Regions from separate parts of the Homo sapiens genome. Here regions 2, 3 and 4 are each linked to region 1. Evidence: promoter capture Hi-C in 16 types of primary human blood cells and fetal thymus (Javierre and others, 2016). All regions are on one chromosome and are shown on one strand. The core of a region is centred on a gene start or on the middle of the fragment in contact, and the rest is flanking DNA. Distances in the headings are between cores, read along the strand shown.

What was found. The method cuts DNA at HindIII sites, captures the fragments that hold promoters and counts their contacts. A CHiCAGO score of 5 or more calls a contact.
Region 2: a contact is called between a fragment that was not itself captured here and the fragment with the promoter of ITPRID2 in region 1, in 2 of 17 cell types (total B cells and naive CD4 T cells). The highest score is 6.2, in total B cells.
Region 3: a contact is called between the fragment with the promoter of NCKAP1 here and the fragment with the promoter of ITPRID2 in region 1, in 7 of 17 cell types (non-activated CD4 T cells, activated CD4 T cells, naive CD8 T cells and 4 more). The highest score is 15.5, in non-activated CD4 T cells.
Region 4: a contact is called between a fragment that was not itself captured here and the fragment with the promoter of ITPRID2 in region 1, in 1 of 17 cell types (total CD8 T cells). The highest score is 5.3, in total CD8 T cells.

Annotation. Positions count from the first base shown.
Region 1 is chr2:181,890,297-181,892,996 of GRCh38, forward strand. ITPRID2 (ITPR interacting domain containing 2) reads left to right here and starts at 1,434. Exons shown (of 18, transcript NM_001130445.3): 1 at 1,434-1,981; 2 at 2,319-2,364. The coding sequence starts at 1,771. RefSeq lists silencers at 1,311-1,640, 1,931-2,070. The HindIII fragment of the contact is 2,528 bases long and covers 1,054-2,700 here.
Region 2 is chr2:180,112,134-180,114,833 of GRCh38, forward strand. No RefSeq gene overlaps it. Among named protein-coding and RNA genes, the nearest start is that of EPCART, 12 kb to the right of the region's middle. The HindIII fragment of the contact is 1,935 bases long and covers 356-2,290 here.
Region 3 is chr2:183,037,146-183,039,845 of GRCh38, forward strand. NCKAP1 (NCK associated protein 1) reads right to left here and starts at 1,312. Exons shown (of 31, transcript NM_013436.5): 1 at 847-1,312. The coding sequence starts at 954. RefSeq lists silencers at 732-851, 912-1,501, 1,234-1,885. The HindIII fragment of the contact is 8,317 bases long and covers 1-2,700 here.
Region 4 is chr2:183,121,585-183,124,284 of GRCh38, forward strand. LOC124907917 (a long non-coding RNA gene) reads right to left here. Exons shown (of 2, transcript XR_007087331.1): 2 at 2,333-2,700. It also overlaps a transcript of NUP35 not described here. Among named protein-coding and RNA genes, the nearest start is that of NUP35, 1.5 kb to the right of the region's middle. The HindIII fragment of the contact is 256 bases long and covers 1,284-1,539 here.

The sequences.
Region 1 (2,700 bases), core at 184-2,683:
TTCATCTTCCACACAGGCAGCGAGACTCTGACCTATTTTGGAGAGCCATTAAACTGTTAGCTGCATCCTACTACAGGACCCTTGAAGGCTGAGAAAGTCTTATAGGTTCAAAGAAAAGATTTTCTAGTAGTGAAATTTCAAGCCATAGAGATATTAATATCACTGTTCTAACTCCCCTGACATTTGGCAGTACATAGATGAGACTCAGGAGAATATTATGATGGTTCTGGAAAGCTAGTCTGGATTTTGGATTTGATCTTGGGGATATTAGTAAACCATTAGAAGATGTCTTGGAATTGTAAATCTAGAGCAATGCGCTAGAAAGGAGATAGGAAAGAATGAAGGCAGGAAAATCAGTGTGCTATTTTAGTAGTCTATGACTTATGTGTAAATGCCTGGACAAAAACTAGGCACTATTTCATCTCCAGAGCATTCTTCATTCCAAATTCTCCAAAAGTTATGGTTTCCTGTAGCTATCAATGACAATGCACTTAATTACCTTGTAATTCGAATGCTTCCATTAGGAATTTTACTATGCTCTGGATTTTAATTTCAAATGAAAAATAATTCCTTCCTTAAAATATTTTGTCTACGCAAAATATTCTTTTCAATCACGTTAAGATTTTAAAAAGTGTTCTAACTTGTTCTTCAGAGCATAGCCAAGTACAATAAAATATTGGAAGCCTTACTTATATGTATAGTTCAGATGTAACATTTAGGGGAACAATGCTGCTTGATAGGTCTGTCACATTGTGTCTGGTTTTGGATAGAATTTGAGTATTTTTGCTAATGAGAATTTAAACATAACAAAACGGAATGCCAAAGCTGGCTTTAAAAAGTTTTGAACCCTGACATCATTTGTTTCTTGTATCATGCTGTCTCACCAAAATCCAAGCAACTATCTCCACATTGTCCCAATTGTTTCCTCTATTCTCCCTCACCAAAGTCCAACTTCAATGTGAAATTTCCAGATTAAATATCCTTTCACAATTCATTTTCATTCATAACATAAACACGATAAATAACTTTAAGTATGAAAGTAGCACTCCAGGAAGCTTAGTCTTTTGCAGTTTTTACATTTTGGCAACACCAATCAAGCACCTCTTTCCGTCCTTACCCCAATTCCTTGGACACTAAAGAGTCTATATTCAGGCGACTCTTTCAAGTGTATGTTTCAGGGTGCCCAAGCAGACACTTGTTTTCTCGCGGGGGATGTTTTGTGAGACTTGGCCTCCCCACTTACGTTCTATTTTTAGGTGAGGGAGGAGGAGGAGGAGAGGAGGAAAGATTATTAACAAACTAATCTTGCCCATTCCGCGGGCAGTAGTCGGGGGCTGGCCTGCTCCGCGTCGCGCCGGGCGCGCCCCGCCCTACCGCGCCCCGCGCGGCCCCGGCCGGAAGGGGGCGTGGGCCGCCGCCGAGGGAAGGCGCGCAGACGCGCAGCGGCCGGCCTGCTCCGGGCGCGTCAGGCAGGGGGTGGGGAGCAGGGGCCGGGCGGGCGCTCGGCTCCCAGCCGCGCTCCCTCGGGCCACTAGCGCTCCCGCGCGCGCCCGGCCGCCTTCATGTGAAGCGCCGGCCCTCCGCCCCTTCCCTCCCCTTCCTTCCCTCCCTCCCTCCCTGTCCCCTCCTCCTCCTCCTCCTCCTCCGGCGCCCGCTTCAGCTCCCCGGGGCCCCCTGCCCGGCCGGGCGCTGACAGCAAGGGCGGGGGTCCCTGCCGCCGCCTTGTCTCGCGCAGGGTCCGGCTGGGGTAGCGGAGCCCCCAGTGCGGCCATGGACCGGCCCCTGTCGTCGTCGGCGGAGGCGGAGGAGGAACTGGAGTGGCAAGTGGCGAGTCGCAGGAGGAAGGCCTGGGCCAAGTGCCGCAGCTCCTGGCAAGCGTCGGAGACGGAGGATCTGTCCACAGAAGCGACGACGCAGGACGAGGAGGAGGACGAGGAGGAGGACCTCCCCGGCGCGCAGCTGCCGGCAGCGGGGGGAAGAGGTCGGTGCTCCCGGCCGGGCTCCGGGGGGAGGCTGGTGGGCTGGGGAGAGTCTCGTGCGCCCTGGGCGCCTGCCACGAGTTCTGGGAGAGCCTCGGGCACGGTAGGCCGAGGGGAGAGGGGACACTTCCGACCTTCAAACGCGCGCGCTGAACGAGGCGCCCCCAGCGTCAACACAGACAACTGGGTGCCATCCGATTTCCCTGCCAAGGGACACTGAGACGTGTCGCTTAGGCTGCATTTGCCGTGGTAGATTTTCCTACTTGGGAGGGTCCAGGGTGACTCCGCCGTCGTAGTGCTCCTGGGTGGTAACGTGCTGTCCCCTCTCTCTACCCCCAGGAAACGTGCCCAACGAGAAGATCGCGATATGGCTCAAGGACTGCCGGTGAGTGCTCCCTGGTCCGCCCGCGTCCCGGGGGAGATCCGTGCGGACGGGACGCCGGAGCAGAGCCACTCGGGCCGCGTCCCTGTGGGTCCCGCGACCGTTGTAAGCTACAAACCGGAAAGTGAGCCGGCGGATAGCTTCCTCCTCTAAGCGATTAGAAATGGAAGTGCTGTGACCGCTGATTATTTGGTGACCGTGTTGACTTTACAGTTAGGACTTGAGCTACTCACGCATCGTGTTAGCATCAGAGATCAGAAATCCAGAACAGATAATCATGCCATATTTGTTCTGTTTTTATTTGAAAGAATTCTCACATCTCGAACAGGATATTTTGTT
Region 2 (2,700 bases), core at 73-2,572, 1.8 Mb before region 1:
AACTTCGGTAAATATGGAATGAATCCTATTCTCCCATAAAAAAGAAAGGCAGGGTAATTTAGCTTGCAATTTACTTAATAAATATAAGAGCATATAAGTAACATTTTTGTTCTTGTTTGCTTAAAAATGCTATGACATATCTCTTAAACATCCTGGGTTTGGTTTATATTTGCAAAAATAGGAAATAAGCCGTGATATTTTGCTTTTATTTATGATGATGACCTTTTTGTAAAGTATCTCAGTCAGCTCCTGAAGGAGATGAGGGCCCTGTGGTTGATACAGAGACTTCTATTTAATGCGTGGTTTCAAATTTAGAACTTCTCTTCAGAAACTATAAATTATTTATGCAGTATCAAGCTTTTAAAACCCTGTTTATGACAAGTTGGGATTTTGCCAATCTCAGTTGAAACAGCCTAAATTATTTATCTTGTATTGCTTCAATGTACCGTATATTCTGAGGCCCAAGAAATATTAAATACATTTCATTTTCTTCTCTGCTATGCTGAGGTAGGGGAGGTTAAGCCCTTAGACATTCTTAGAACAATTCTTGGTCTCTGTCTTCTCTCTGTGTGCTAGGTTTCTTTTTTTACTTTCATATTATGCCTTTTCTTTCATATGAAATTTTCACTTTGTTGAACTTTTTTTTCAAGACCCTTTATCTCCCATCAGTTATCTTTACTGAATTTCCATACATTGTAACTTCAGTTATAAATGAAAGAATATCTTTGCAAGTAAAGAATTCAGTTGTTTTTAGGTCTCAATATCTTGCAGGAGCATGAACAATGAATTACTCTCATTTGATTTTGCTGAAATGTGTGAATCATTAATGATAAACAACAAAAGAGTTCAAGATTTAATTAAATAGCTAAATTTTGGGAGTTATTTTAATTTAGTTTTAATATATGAACTATGAGATAATGCAGATATAGGGTAGCTTTATTCCATGAATCTTAATCACCTAAAACTACCAGATTCTAGGAAGTTTGGCATTTCTACTAATTTTGAAAACAGGTGTGAGAAAAAGGACATGTAAACAGTATTTAATTATTATAGCCAGCTTGCAAATTTTAATAGCCCCATTTCCTTAAACTGCAGAATGGCAAGAATGAACAGTAAACATGCAAATAGCAAATTCTTATATTCAATAGACTGTATGTATCATGTTACTAGTAACATTATTTATTCAGCTAGTTTAGATAGTTATTCCCATTTTGAACTTGGAATCTACTCATCAATTGCTCTCAGCAAATGTGATTGGGTGGAGGTCTATTGGGATATGTGAATTAGGCATAGCCAATCAGATCCCCACTTTTCCCTGTTGTCAATGATTAGTTCATGGACACTCAGGTGATGCCATCAGAGCCAAAGAAATATCATGAGACTTTTTGGAGACTTCCGAGATAGAGGGAGGTTCTAGAGGGAAATTTTGGGAAGCTGAGATTATGTATTTCTGGAGTTGCTCAAGTTCTCTAAGGAAGGAGCCTGTCTGTAAATAGAACAGGCAATAGATTTTCTTTCACTTGCAAGAAAAAATTTCTAATTGATAAAAATCATACACATAAAACAATAAGCCATATATTTATTGCAGTATGCATGCAGGACTCACTAACAAGCACTCTTATTTATGGATCATTGATTAATAAACATGACAATTATGTCCACTGTAAACCTAGAGCAATTCCAATTACACACATCTGTTCATTAAATGCAGACAGTAGTTTATACCATGTTTGTATCATATTAAATACTAACATTTAAAATATTTTTTCTTTAGAAATTTTGTGTGTCTGGAGTTTTAACTTTTCATTATAATTGTCTTTATTAGCTCCTAATCTCATATTTATGAAGGATTGGGATTAGTTGGAATATTGATGAAAAACTGTACATGCAACACAGAGAAAATGATCATAAACACAAAATACTGTGTCAGGAAGCCTATGGATTTTCTGAAGCCCATACATGGATAAGGGCCCTTGGTCTATCAGAAAATGAACCCTTGAAATTTTTGATTTCTGAGATTTTCTTGAAGTTTTCTTTATTATCTACTATGTGATAGATTTTTAGACATTCTAGGGATGCTTGAGAATAATGCGTATTCACTCTTTATAGAATATTGAATCTAAATAAATCAATCTTAATTCAAATTTAATTTGTAAATATTTGTCATTTTTCTCTTGAACTCATAATGTTTACATATTTTTATGATACTAAGTAATGATTTATAATTGTTATGTATTATTGACTTAACCCCTTATCTATTTAAAAATAAATAGACCATTAATACCTTTGAAGCTTTTGAGTCTTTAATTTTATAATAATGTAATCACTGCCTTTCTTTTTTTTTGCTTCTATTTGCTAATACTTATCTGCCCACACTTTTATTGACATTTCTCTATCATATCATTTTAGAAATGTTGTTAACCACATATAGCTGAAATTTATTTTGAACTGAATGACAGTATTTTCCTTTTACCTGAGGAACAGGATTTAGCCTATTTATTACTTTCTGAAATAAGTGATACACTTGATCCTCTGTTTTTATGTTTCTGTTAGCTGTGTTTTATCTCTTTATAAGGACTATAATTTTATTTTTCTTAAATCTACTGCAGTAGGTATACTCTTTTTTAAAACTTCATGGGTTGTTAGCTATTTCTATATAATAAACTACATTAAAATAGAGTAGCTAAAACAAAGACAGTT
Region 3 (2,700 bases), core at 62-2,561, 1.1 Mb after region 1:
CATGTAAAAGCCTTTAAATGGGCCTATTAGCTATAGTTGCTCAAATTATCAGACTATGCTATAAATCAGCAGCAATTGCAACATTTTTACGGTTTTTATTTTGTACAGACACCGAACTTTAAGAAATGGTATTGGAAAATCTAACATGAGGAGGAGTACAGGGGAAAGAGTAGAAGGTTGTTATTCCAGTTCTAGTGACTCACAGCCTAGAAGTATTTCAGAAAATTGGTTCCACCCTCACTTCCCCCTCCTCTCCACCTTCAAAATGAAATAATCCCAAATCGTCAACACACTCTCAATGGCTTTTTATTTAGCAATCTAAAATAAAGTGGCAAAGTGGAGGGGATACGGGATTCATCCAATCAGCCCTTCTCTACCCACATTCCCACACCAAAAAATGGGGATGTGGGGTGTAATCCCTGTTCACTGCTGCCATCTCCGTAAGAATATGGAACACTCAAGTTTTCCTACCCACCTAGAATTTCGCCCACCCACCACCCTCCCTTTCCTATGGGCCCCATCATGGGGGCGGGGGCGCCGAGGAGGGGACAGCTCCCGGCTCCCAGCGGCGCCCCCACCCCGTGCGAGGCCCAGCGCCCGATCCCGCCGCCGGGAGCCGGGAAATGGCTTCTCTGCCTTCGGCCGGCCGGCGAACCACAGGGAGAGGCGCCCGGGACTCCGCATTAGGCCGCGGCGCATCCAGGCGACCCCGGGCCGGGCCTCGGGCGGCGACGCCGAGATTTCTACACCCGGCGCCTCCTGCCGCCCCCACCCCACGGCCTCCCTTGCCCTTCATCCCTCCCGGGCCCGCCCGCCTCCGCCGCGGCCTCCCCGGCCCGTGCGCACCTTCTTGATGTTGTAGAGGCGGGTGAGCATGCCGACGCCCCGGTCGTTGAGGATGGTGAGCTTCTCCGCCAGCTTCTGCTGACTGGGCTGCAGCACTGAGCGCGACATGGTGGTGCTGGTGCCGCCGCCGCCGCCGGCCGCCTCGCGCCCAGTCACGGGCCCGCGGCCTTCGCAGCAGCCTCTCTCGGGCCTCCTCCCCTCCCGCCCGCGACCTCCGCCTTAGGAGAGCGCGCCCATGGCCCTCGCGCCCCAATCCCGCGCCGGCGACAGAGCGAGCCGCGGCGGACTCCTCGGAGCCCCTTCTCCCGCAGCAGCCCGCGCCCCGGCAGCCTCCTGCCTTCCGCCCGCCGCCCTTCCGCCCCCACCCCCGGCGCTCTCCGCCCCAGCCCCCAACGAGCCGCCTTCCCCGGCTGCTCCACTAGGTGTGGCGGCGGCGGCGGCGGCGGCGGCGTCTCCGGCGGCTGAGAACGAGGCCGCTTCCCGCAGCCCCGGACGGGCCCTCGGTCACCTGATCGGCAGCGCCGGCGCCCCCGCGAGGCCGGACGGGGAACTGCGGCCGACGGGCCCTCGGCATGGCCTCGCCGCCGCCGCTCTGGCCCTGGCCCTGGCCCGGACCGCCCACTACGCCTGATGCCGGGATGGGAGTCCCAAGCGGGGACTGAGTGGGGTCGCGTTGTGTGCTCTTTCCACTTCGCCCCACACCCCACTCCTTCAAGTTCCCAAAAGTTGCTTTTCCGCACCACCCTTCTAAAGAAACCGGCAGAAACTCTGCTGGGAGGCGGGGTGTTTTCCAGGCGAGTTTCGCTTAAGAGTGGGCTGGTGGCTCCAAGCGCTTTTTCCTCCCACTGCTTGACAGGCGCTCGCCGCAGAACACAGCAGATGTTGTGCTCCGCGAGGTGGGGATCGCCTCTGCCAGCCTCCCCAGCCCATCCTCAGTCTCCCCGCCTGGAACCAGTTTGTGAGAGAGGAGGTCGGAAGTGAGGGTAACTCAAGTCCTTGAGATAATCACAATCTAGACTTTGTCGGCGAGGAGCACCCATCCGGAGGAGACGCAGTAGGTCCTGGCATGTGGAAGGCAAAAAATAAATGTTTGTTCAATGCCTAAAGGAACCGCTCCCATTTTTTTACAGCCTCCACCCTAAATCCCACTTCTTCTTGGAAACATTCTTCTTTGCCATCTCATTTTTCCTGATCAATTTCTTCTTAGCGACACTCCAAGGCTACTCCCTTGTCAAATGTATTAGACATGATTCCAAAAGTGAACTAACTGAGGACTTACGTAATTGAGGTGAGAAACTTCAGCCAAGAGGACTCAGGCCTCTAATATTTTTGGCTTTGCCTTTTCTCGATATGTTAATTTTTTATATTATATTCATTAATTTTAAGTCAGTAACAAAATGTCCCGCCACATTCAATAAGACATTCTAAGAGTAATAAGCCATCACTGGATTTATCAAAACTCTTTAAGAAAAGGAAATTGTAATGAATAGCTTTAAAATATTTTTTAAAGCTACTATATCTACTATTCGTAAAGAAATCTTCATTTTAATATTCCAACAAGAAAGAAGGAGTGGACTGAATGGATTTAATCTAAGGGGCATTTAAAAGAGTCCTGTTCCCACCAAAAGAAGTCATAATCATACCTGCCAGTGTGCCTGAAATTCTATATACAAAGCTGCAGTACCTTGAATGAATGCTTTGTACCTAGAGAGTCTTAAGAATACAAACACTTCAGAGAGATCATCTGTCGAGCTATTACTAGTCATTAACTGGTCAAGGAATTTAATTTATCTGGTTACTTCTCAGCCTGATAGTTAACATTTTAATTTAGAGGAGGCAAGGTTGTGGGGCCTG
Region 4 (2,700 bases), core at 162-2,661, 1.2 Mb after region 1:
GCTCTTTGGGAGGCTGAGGCAGGTGGATCATGAGGTCAGGAGATCGAGACCATCCTGGCCAACATGGTAAAACCCTGTCTGTACTAAAATTCAAAAAAAAAAATGAGTTGGGTGTGGTGGCATGCGCCTGTACTCCCAGCTACTCGGGAGACTGAGGCAGGGGAATCAGTGGAGGTTGCAGTGGAGTGCCAGAGCTGAGATCGTGTCACTGCACTCCAGCCTGGTGACAGAGCGAGACTACATCTCAAAATAAATAAATAAATAAATAAAATAGCAATAACACCTGTCATCAACCACAAAATTGTATAAAATAAGTTAAAGGCCATTCTTTTTATTATTATTATTATTATACTTTAAGTTCTAGGGTACATGTGCACAACGTGCAGGTTTGTTACATATGTATACATGTGTAAAGGCCATTCTTAAATCCTCCAATTTACAAACCCTTTTCTACTTTACTGTTAATAGTTTGGTGCAAATCTTTTTCTTTTTCTTTTCTTTTTTTTTTTTGGACACAGAGTCTCGCTCTGTCGCCAGGCTGGAGTGCAGTGGCATGGTCTTGGCTCACTGCAACCTCCACCTCCTGGGTTCAAGCGATTCTCCTGCCTCAGCCTCCCAAGTAGCTGGGATTACAGGCATGTGCCACCATGCCCGGATAATTTTTGTATTTTTTAGTAGAGATGGGGTTTCACCATGTTGGCCAGGCTGGTCTGGAACTCCTGACCTCGTGATCCGCCCGCCTTGGCCTCCCAAAGTGCTGGGATTACAGGCATGAGCCACCATGCCCGGCTGGTGCAAATCTTTTTCAACATCTTCTTTTATTTAAAGAAGTATCACTCTTTTCTCTTTCTCTGCATCTGTTCCTAAATAAACCCGTTATTAAATAAAAATGGTGCCGTATATGCATGCATGTTTTCAAATTACTTTTTTTCATTATATCTATCACAGAGGTCTTTCTAGGTTAATATTTACACTCATATCAAATCCATCTAATTCATTTTAGTTGTTGTATAGTGTTCTTTTGTTTGGCTAGATCATAATTTGTATAGAAATTTCTTTTTTATTTTGTAGAGAAGTGGGGTCTCACTATCTCAAACTCCTGGACTCAAGTGATCAACCCCTCAGCCTCCCAAGGTGCTGGGATTGCAGGTGTGAGCCACCACATCTAGCCTCAATGTGTGTAGAAATTTATACATTGATATACCTTTCTTGGTAGCTTAATTCTAAAAAGTGGATTGCCCTGTGTTGTGGGCTGACTACTCCCCAAAGATATCCATACACTAAGCTTTAGAATCTGTGAATGTTACCTTATATGGCAAAAGGTATTTTGAAGATGTGATTATTAACTTAATCACCTCTACTGAATATTGAAATAGTAAGATTATCCTGGATTACCTGGGTGGGTCCTAAATGTCATCACAAGGCTATGTGATGGCAGAAGCTGAACAAAGCAGTGTCAGACAGACCAAAGATGCTACATCGTTGGCTTTGAAAAAGCAGGAAGGTGGCACAAGCTAAGAAATATAAGTGGCTTCTAGAAGCTTGAAAAAGCAAGGTAATAGATTCTCCCCTGGAGCCTCCAGAAGAAAATAGTCCTTCTGGTACTTTGATTTTAGCCCTACAATACTCATTTTGGATTTTTGGCCTCCAGAACTGTAAGAGATACATTTGTGCTGGTTTAGTTAACCGAGCTTGTGGTACTCCAATGTGACTTTATCTGAACTTTATTACATCTGCAAAGACCCGATTTCCAAATAAGGTCATATTCATAAGTATGAGGGTTAGGACTTGAACATAAATTTTTGAGGGACACAATTCAATTCACACACCCATTTTCAAAAAGTCAATTCGATCTGTGAGTGGTTTTAAAATTTGATTTCTGTGAACCTACCATTTAATTCTGGAATTGTTACTGCCTCATTCCAAAGACAAAATTCTTCCTCCATTTGAGATTTTAGGAAGTCCTAGAAGAAATAGCTGAGCATGGGTGGATATTTTGGAAATAATCCTCATGGTATGGAGCAGAGAACGTCCCCAGTTATACATATGTAGCACATTATTTTATAAAGTTAGTATTTGAGCAAAACTAAACAATATATTTTTACACACACATATGCAGAATATGTGTATGTGATTTACGTATGACTATGCCCTAAAGAAAAGCAGCAAAGTGAGGGGACGTGGACGGCAGGGATGGCACATGCAGAAGCACGCAAGATTCCGCGGTGTGGAGGGTTCGTGGGTGCGTATAATTATCTTCCATTATTTACATGTGTACTTTATGCGTTCGTTAGCTATATTTTTGTATGTTTTAATATGCAACAAAACGGCGTATGAGTTACGCTTTAATGTAAAATTGTCTACATAACACAAAATTTAAAAGAAATGGCATACGGATAGTAGAAAACATGCTTTGAGGAAAAAGCGTCATGTACTAAGTCCAGAAATCGACATTGCAAAGAGGCACCAACTGTTTTCATCAAGCTGACTTTTCCAGGTGCTACTCAGAAAAGCTGACCGATGATAGAGCACTGGGTCAACTCACGCTAATTATGAAACCGTGAGTAAAATAATCTGTGCTTCTATGTAACTTAAGTACCCACAAATCAGGAAGCATTCCCGGATGAAAAGCATTCACAGAACCATACGCTGGTTCGCCACCTTCCCGGTGCAAAAACCCTTTCCTCGGAAATTCTCAGC